Regions from separate parts of the Homo sapiens genome. Here regions 1 and 3 are each linked to region 2. Evidence: promoter capture Hi-C in 16 types of primary human blood cells and fetal thymus (Javierre and others, 2016). All regions are on one chromosome and are shown on one strand. Each heading gives the region's core, a stretch centred on a gene start or on the middle of the fragment in contact. The rest is flanking DNA. Distances are from core to core; before and after follow the strand shown. Region 1 holds the start of PRMT1 (protein arginine methyltransferase 1). Region 2 overlaps LOC107985340 (a long non-coding RNA gene). Region 3 holds the start of RCN3 (reticulocalbin 3).

The links. Contacts are between HindIII fragments. The CHiCAGO score rates a contact against its expected background, and 5 or more counts as called.
Region 1: the fragment with the promoter of PRMT1 here is called in contact with a fragment that was not itself captured in region 2 in 1 of 17 cell types (total CD4 T cells); the score reaches 5.1 in total CD4 T cells.
Region 3: the fragment with the promoter of RCN3 here is called in contact with a fragment that was not itself captured in region 2 in 1 of 17 cell types (naive B cells); the score reaches 6.2 in naive B cells.

Annotation. Positions count from the first base shown.
Region 1 is chr19:49,675,984-49,678,683 of GRCh38, forward strand. It overlaps PRMT1 (protein arginine methyltransferase 1), which reads left to right and starts at 1,288. Exons shown (of 11, transcript NM_001536.6): 1 at 1,288-1,333. The coding sequence starts at 1,298. RefSeq lists enhancers at 773-922, 927-1,658 and a silencer at 1,503-1,782. The HindIII fragment of the contact is 22,690 bases long and covers 954-2,700 here.
Region 2 is chr19:49,246,112-49,248,916 of GRCh38, forward strand. The region is part of intron 2 of LOC107985340 (a long non-coding RNA gene); the gene reads left to right. Among named protein-coding and RNA genes, the nearest start is that of MIR4324, 61 kb to the right of the region's middle. The HindIII fragment of the contact is 8,311 bases long and covers 1-2,805 here.
Region 3 is chr19:49,526,590-49,529,289 of GRCh38, forward strand. RCN3 (reticulocalbin 3) reads left to right here and starts at 1,414. Exons shown (of 7, transcript NM_020650.3): 1 at 1,414-1,469; 2 at 1,878-2,125. The coding sequence starts at 1,884. RefSeq lists an enhancer at 1,330-1,908 and a silencer at 1,372-1,491. The HindIII fragment of the contact is 8,718 bases long and covers 1-1,754 here.

The sequences.
Region 1 (2,700 bases), core at 38-2,537, 430 kb after region 2:
CGTGAGCCACCGCGCCCGGCCGCCTGGCGTAATTTTTGTATTTTTAATAGAAATGGGGGTTTCACCATGTTGCCCAGACTGGTCTCGAACTCCTGATGTCAAGTGATCCGCCTGCCTCCGCCTCCTAAAGTGCTGGAATTACACCCGTGAGCCATCGCGCCCGAACCCTATTGTAAATTTTAAGTCTCAGGCGTTTGCCAGCGGCACGCCAGAGAGTATAGCCTGCGCGGAGGCCCAGAAACCAAAGAGCGAGCTCATTCCGGGATTGGAGAGAAGTGTGAGCAGAGGGAAGTAGAGGGATCGGGGAGAGGAGGGGCAGGACCCACGCATTCGGCCCTTTGCATTCAGCTTCATTCAACTAGGAACTTTTTCTGCAAATCAAGGAAAGCTTCCCGGAGGAAGTGGTGCCTAAGCTGTGCTCTGATTCACGTTTAGAAGCTGACCAGACAAAGAGAGGTGGGCGTTCCTGGCAGGGGGAGGGACTTGGCAAAAACCAAGTGGCTTGAGAGGGGTTGATGGTTTTAAAAAACTTGGAATGATTATGTCAAGGGCTAGGGATTTAATGTGTTGACGACGGACTCCTATTCCTCACTTGCTTCGGGACCCCAGCTATGCCCTTCCTCTCTCTGGGCCTCTCACCGATTCCGTTTTTCCCCCAGGTAATGAGCACAAGCTCCCTTTTTCCTCCAGACTCCCCCCGGGTTGGGAGGATCCACCGAGTGGACGAGGAGTGATAATTCCTTTGAGCCAATCGTTGGTGCCTGAAGCCCCGCCTTCTTCCCTACCCGTGGGCCAATTGCCGTGTTCTCCTTGAGGCCGGCCGCTTGGCGAGGGTGGGCCAAAGGCTGCGTGACGTCGCTTCCGGATAAACCAATGGCAGCGATTAGGAGGCGGGTCGTTTTGGTGATGGACAGGTGTTTCAAGACGCCCCTTTAGCGCGGGGCTCCCCGGGAAGCTTTGAGGCGGTGCTGGGTGTAAAGGGGAGGGCATTCCTGGTGGATTTTGCCCAATCACCAGTCGCGCTTCTTGCAATAGACGGGCAGTTTTCCCCATCCCGGGTCGACTTGAGGGGGCGGGATTCTGGACGCCAGAGTTGGCAAACCCCTGACCTATGATGGACGTATTCTCTAGCCAATTACTAGACGGTATTCTCAGACGGGCCGCCTCCATTGCCAATGAAATCTTCCAGCGGGGTCGCGGTAGGCGGGCCGTGGACCCTCTGGTATAAGGCGGTCCCGGGGGAGTGAGGAGAAAGGGGGGGTCTTGGCGGCCGGAGGAGGAGTAGGTGCGGGTGAAGATGGCGGCAGCCGAGGCCGCGAACTGCATCATGGAGGTGAGCGCTTGGAGCGCCGCCGTGGGCGGGAGGCGGCTTTGGGTCGGTGTTTCACGCCTCTGTGGTGGGGAAAGGGCTCTAAGTTGGCGATATGGGGTTGGAGGTCCCCCGCCGCACACGGGGGCGCCGCACGTTCCACATCCGGGGATATCGTTTGAGGTGACGGCTCCCTAGCTTCCAAGGGCCTTCGGCATCCGGCCTAGCGGAGGGTCTTATCCCCCCTCCCACGTGGAGGAGGGCTGGGGGCGCTTCCGGCCAGGCCCCCACGTGGCCGCTGCGCGGTGGGTGGGGAGGGGGTGTGCCGAGTCCAGTGGCCCGGCGGGCTCCACGTGCGGGACAAAGGCCCCGCCCCCGGCCGGGGAGGGGCGCCCAGGGGGGCGGGGAGGGGGTCCGACCCTCCTGACGCCCCCAGCCCTCCTCCCCGGGGACCTGGGCACACGCCGTGGGGTGTGATCGACCTGGGGCCCTCCACGATGTGGGGAGTCTCTTGGGAGGAGCAGTGCTTCTCAGCCCTTTACCAACCTCCTTCCGAGCTCCGGGGGCATCTGTTGGGATATCGGACCCGGTTTTGTGCGTTCTGGGTTAGGGACTGGAGGAAAACCAAGAATGGGGTCCCCCGCCGACCCCGTTTCCCCTCCCAGAATTCTCCCCCTCGCCCAGGGCTTTAGGAGTTGGGGGATGGGGCATGCCCCTGTGACCTCCCTCTGGGTGGTGGTGGGGCATCTAGATAGAGATTTTCCCATTAATAGGCGCCGTGCACCCCCTTGTGGCCATTTCTGGGTGTGTGGGAGGGACATCTTTTTCATGGGGCGTGTCCTGAAGCCCACCTCCCCTCGGATTTCTTCCTGGCGGGCGGAGGGAGGAGGGTATGTCCGCTGGGAAGGAGTTGTGGGAAATATGTAGGCTGAGAGCTTTACCCTACTGGAGCCGTTTATCTCCCCCGGGTCTTTGTGAGGGTGCGAGATGACCTCCTTCTTCCTGAAGCCCTGTGCAGGGTCCTGAGCCCTGGGGTCCTGAGAGTGGGTGCCTGAAATGGTTTCGAGTGAGGTTTGGTTCTCGTGCAGCCATGTGGGGGAGGTTTCAGTCTTGCGTTTCAAGCCCTCTGGGGCTGGGGTTGTCTGGCGGTAGTTTTCAGTGGTATTGAGAAATAGGCCCGAGTGGGAAACCCCCTCAGCACCTTTCTTCTTATAGGCATCCCCGCTAGCTTGGGAGAGCTGGAGGGAGGGTGCTTGGAGCCTAGTAGGTCATGGCCTGTGACGTGGCCCTTCTTGGAGACTTGGATAGTGGTCACATCTGGAAGAGATGTAATCTGATGGGGCCTCTGTCCTTCCACCCCTTACCTATGGCATTGGCTGGAGGGGCAGGTC
Region 2 (2,805 bases), core at 303-2,802:
TGACCCCTGTCACCAATGCCCCAATTTCCGTCACTCCAGAGAGTTACTTTGGGTTCCTTTCTCTTCACCCCAGAAGCAATGACTGATTTCCATCACTACATATAAGTCTGACCTGTTCTTGGGTTTCATAGATAATAGATTCACACAATACATAGACATTTGTGTCTGGCCTGTTACATTTAATATAGAACATCTTTGCTAAGCCCGAGGTCATAAAGATATTCTATGTTTTCTTCCGGAAGTTTCTAGTTTTGGCTTTTGAATTTAGGTCTTTGGTTCCTGTTAATTTGGGGTGGGGGTATGGTATGTGGCAGGAATATGTTTATATTTTTCTATATGGCTATACAGTAGTTCTAGCCCTGTTTGTTAAAAAGACTTTCCCTTACCCATTGAATTGCTGTGATATCTTTACTGAACATCAATTGGTCATATGTGTATAGGTGGATTTCTGTTCTGTTCTATTGATCTTTTGGTTTATCTTTAGGCTAATATAACACTGCCCTGACTACTGTAGCTTTATAGTAAATCTTGAAATTCGATAGTATGAGTCTCCAACGTGTTCTTTCTCAAGATTGTTTGGACTACTTTAGGTCTTTTGCATTTTTTTTTTTTTTTTTTTTTTGAGATGGAGTCTTGCTCCATTGCCCAGGCTGGAGTGCAGTGGTGTGATCTCAGGTCATTGCAACCTCCCTGCCTACTGAGTTCAAGCAATTCTCCTGCCTCAGCCTCCTAAGTGAAATTACAGGCACCCGATACCACGCCTGGCTAATTATTTTTTAGTAGAGATGGGGTTTCCTCATGTTGGCCAGGCTGGTCTCAAACTCCTGACCTCAGGTGATCCTCCTGCCTTGGCCTCCCAAAGTGCTGGGATGACCGGCATAAGCCACTACACCCGGCCGGTCCTTTGCATTTTCATGTACATTTTAGAATCAGCTTGTCAATTCCTCAACAAACCTGGCTGAGATCTGAATTGCCATTGTGTTGAATCTGTAGATCAATTTGGGGAGAACTGATATCTTGTTTTTTGAGACAGAGTCTTACTCTGTTACCCATGCAGGAGTGCAGTGGTGCGATCTCGGCTCACTGCAGCCTCTGCCTCGCAGGCTCAAGCGATTCTCCTACCTCAGCCTCCTGAGTAGCTGGGATTACAGGTGTGTACCACCATGCCCAGCTAATTTTTTTGTATTTTTAGTAGAGACAGGGTTTCACCATGTTGGCCAGGCTGGTCTCAAACTGCTGAGCTCAAGTAATCCACCCACCTCGGCCTCCCGAAGTGCTGGGATTACAGGCGTGAGCCACCACGCCCGGCCTACACCAATTCTTTGAATTCATAAACAAATATTTCCATTTATTTAGGTTTTTCTCTCAAAAATACCTTGTAGTTTTCAGTATAGAGATTTTTGAATATCTTTTGTTAAATATAGTCTTAGCATTTGATTTTTGAGGCTATTGTAAATGGTTTTGTTTTTAAAATTTCACTTAACTATGGTTTGTTGCTAGTATGCAGAAATGTGATTATTTTTGTATATTGGCTTTTATTTTTGTGACTTTCCTAAGTGCACTTATTCTAGTAGCTTTTTATTTTTGTAGATTCCCTAGGATTTCCTAATTACATGCTTATGACATCTGTGAATAAAGACAGTTTTACTTCTTCCTAGCCAGTTTCTATGCTTTTTATATCTTTTTCTTGCCTTCTTTCACTGGCTAGGAACTTCACTATAGTGTTGAACAGAAGTGGTGTAAAGGGATTTCCCTTCCCTGTTTTCAGTATTGGGGAAAGTATTCAGTATTTCATCATTTAGTATGATGTTAGCTGTAGCTTTTGTCATTGTTGTTAATATCCTTAACACAATGAATGATTCTCAACCGAGGGTGATTTCCCACCTCTTCCAGGGACATTTGGTAATGTCATATGACTTTTTTTTTTTTTTTTTTTTTTTTTTTTTTGAGACTGAGTCTCGCTCTATCACTCAGGCTGGAGTGCAGTGGCGTGATCTCGGCTCACTGCAAACTCCGCCTCCCGGGTTCACGCCATTCTCCTGCCTCAGCCTCCTGAGTAGCTGGGACTACAGGCGCCCGCCACCACGCCTGGCTAATTTTTTGTATTTTTAGTAGAGACAGGGTTTCACCATGTTAGCCAGGATGGTCTCGATCTCCTGACCTCATGATCCGCCCACCTCGGCCTCCCAAAGTGCTGGTATTACAGGCGTGAGCCACTGCACTTGGCCTGTCATGTGACATTTTTCATTGTCACAAACAGCTGAGTGGGGAGCGTTGATGCTGGCATCTTGAGGGTGAAGGCTAGGAACACTGCCAAGCATTCTAGGATGCACAGCACAGCCTCTCCCCACCCCAGCAAAGAATTTTCTGGGCAAAATCCCCATCATGTTCAGGTAGAGAATCTCTGCCCAGCACATGGAGGAAGTTCTGTTGTATTTCTAGTTTGTTGCAGGTTTTTTTTCCTCCAATAATAGGTGTTGAATTTTGTCAAATGGTTCTTCCCTTTAATCTATTAATGTAATAAGTTACATTAATTTCTGGGATAAAACCACTTGCTTATACTGTATCCACTTTGTTTGTGGATTAAATTTGCTAATATACTTTGAGACAGTCTCTCGTTCTGTCGCCCAGGCTGGAGGGCGTGATCTTAGCTCACTGCAACCTCCGCCTCCTGGGTTCAAGCTATTCTCCTGCCTCAGCCTCCCGAGTAGCTGGGATTATAGGCGCCTGCCACCACGCCCGGCTAATTTTTATATTTTTAGTAGAGATGGGGTTTCATCATGTTAGCCAGGCTGGTCTCAAACT
Region 3 (2,700 bases), core at 164-2,663, 280 kb after region 2:
CGCCATTCTCCTGCCTCAGGCTCCCGAGTAGCTGGGACTACAGGCGCCTGCCACCATGCCTGGCTAATTTTTTGTATTTTTAGTACAGACGGGGTTTCACCATGTTAGCCAGGATGGTCTCGATCTCCTGACCTCATGATCCACCCGCCTCTGCCTCCCAAAGGGGTGGGATTACAAGTGTGAGCCACCGCGCCCGGCCTAAGGTCACTTTTTTTTTTTTTTTTTAAGACAGAGTTTTGCTCTTGTTGCTCAGACTGGAGTACAATTGCGTGATCTCAGCTCACTGCAACCTCCGCCTCCCAGGTTCAAGCAATTCTCCTGCCTCCCAAGTAGCTGGGATTACAGGCATGCACCACCACACCCGGCTAATTTTTTGTATTTAGTAGAGACGGGGTTTCACCATGTTGGTCAGGCTGGTCTGGAACTCCTGACCTCAGGTGATCCACCTGCCTCAGCTTCCCAAAGTTCTGGGATTACAGGCATTGAGCTACTGTGCTCAACCTGAGGTCATGTATTTTTAATTCATAACTTTTACAAATATTTACTGGATGACTGCCATGCCAGGCATTTTGAGGAATTCTTGGCTACTGTCTGACCACCTGAATCCTTGGAGCCGAAGAGGAGCGAGGAGCAGTGTTCACTCTTGGAGGAAATGGGATATTTCCTCCGGCCCCTTGATTCTGCTCTCCCTTTTCTTTTCTTTTCTTTTCTTTCTTTTTTTTTTTGAGACGGAGTTTCGCTCTTGTTGCCCAGGCTGGAATGCAATGGTGCGATCTCGGCTCACCACAACCTCCGCCTCCCAGGTTCAAGCAATTCTCCTGCCTCAGCCTCCCAAAGTAGCTGGGATTAAAGACATGCGCCACCACACCCGGCTAATTTTGTATGTTTAGTAGAGATGGGGTTTCTCCGTGTTGATCAGGCTGGTCTCGAACTCCCGACCTCAGGCGATCCGCCCGCCTCGGCCTCCCAAAGTTCTGGGATTACAGGCGTGAGCCACCGCGCCCGGCCTTTTTTCTTTTCTTTCGTTCTTTTTGTTTATTTTTGTTTTGTTTTGTTTTGTTTGGTATAGAAGTGTTGGAACGTACACCTCTTTCTTAAACCATCCTGACAAAGGGAAAGGGAAAAATACATTTCCCGTGAGGCGTTGTGACTAGAACAGCTGGAGGTGGACGGCAGAGTGCCGCGACGACTGCCAGGAGTTGTAGTTCTCCCCGGCCGCGTCACTGCGGTGTCGCCCACCCTTCTTCCCCGGGCAGGCCGCGGTTTCCTTTGTGGACGTGGCGAGGAGTGCCCGCGGCACCCCGTGCACTCATTGGCCCCGCCCCGTGAGACGCTCGTGCGAGCTCATTGGGCGGGGGGCGGGGCTCTGCGCTGCCAGAGGCGGGGCCTGACTGGAGAGCGGCCGAATTGGGCACATTTGCGGGAACGCAGAGCGGAGCGTGGAGAGCGGAGCGAAGCTGGATAACAGGGTAAAGGGAGTGGGTGGGGGGCCTCTGTCCAGGGAGGGCGGCTCGGGTCGAGGACCAGGGTCCGGACTGGGAGCAATGACGGGGAGCCTGCCTGACCTCTCGCTGGCCACAACTATGCCCTGCACCTTGCGTGGGATGTGCGCCACGTCTGTCTCTGTAATTCCCCCTGGCAGGTCTGGGACCCCCCTGAGACTCCGTCAGAAGATTCGGTCCTCCCCATAGGTGGCTTTACCTCTAAGCATCCCGCCCTCTTTTCCCCCATCGCCCGCCCTTTTTGAGCCCGAAAGCTTGCAGCCAACTTCCAACTCCCTGTCCTGTCCTAGGTAACCCCTCCACCCCGCCATTCTCCTATCCCGTGTCTGTCCCCATCCCTGTGACCCCTGACCCCTGGCCTTTGCCACTCCCCAGGGACCGATGATGTGGCGACCATCAGTTCTGCTGCTTCTGTTGCTACTGAGGCACGGGGCCCAGGGGAAGCCATCCCCAGACGCAGGCCCTCATGGCCAGGGGAGGGTGCACCAGGCGGCCCCCCTGAGCGACGCTCCCCATGATGACGCCCACGGGAACTTCCAGTACGACCATGAGGCTTTCCTGGGACGGGAAGTGGCCAAGGAATTCGACCAACTCACCCCAGAGGAAAGCCAGGCCCGTCTGGGGTAAGAGAGACATTCGGTTGGGGCGTGTCCAGAGGTGGGGCTTAGGAGAGAGACGCGGGGGTATCGACAGGGGTCAGAGAAATGGCGTGGACTGAACTTCATTTCTTTGTGAGAAATGAAATTCTACCTTCTATCCTTGGGAAAAAGAAATTAAGTTAAAATTGAGGCCTAAAGAGGACCTTTGAGACCGGGCGTGGTGGCTCATGCCTGTAATCCCAGCACTTTGGGAGGCCAAGGCAGGCCGATCACTTGAGGTCAGGAGTTCGAGAACAGCCTGGCCAACATGGTGAAATCCCGTCTCTACTAAAAATACAAAATTAGGCAGGCGTGGTGGTGGGCACCTGTAATCCCAGCTACTCGGGAGGCTGAGGCAGGAGAATCGCTTGAACCTGGGAGGTGGAGGTTGCAGTGAGCCAAAATTGCACCACTGCCCTCCAGTCAGGGCGACAAAGTGAGACTCCGTCTAAAAAACAACAACAACAATAAAAAAGAGGACCTTTGAGGGCAGCAAAATCTGGGTTAGATTCTGCCCCCTAAGCGCTCCTTATTCTTTTGTCCCAGACATCTCCCCTCCC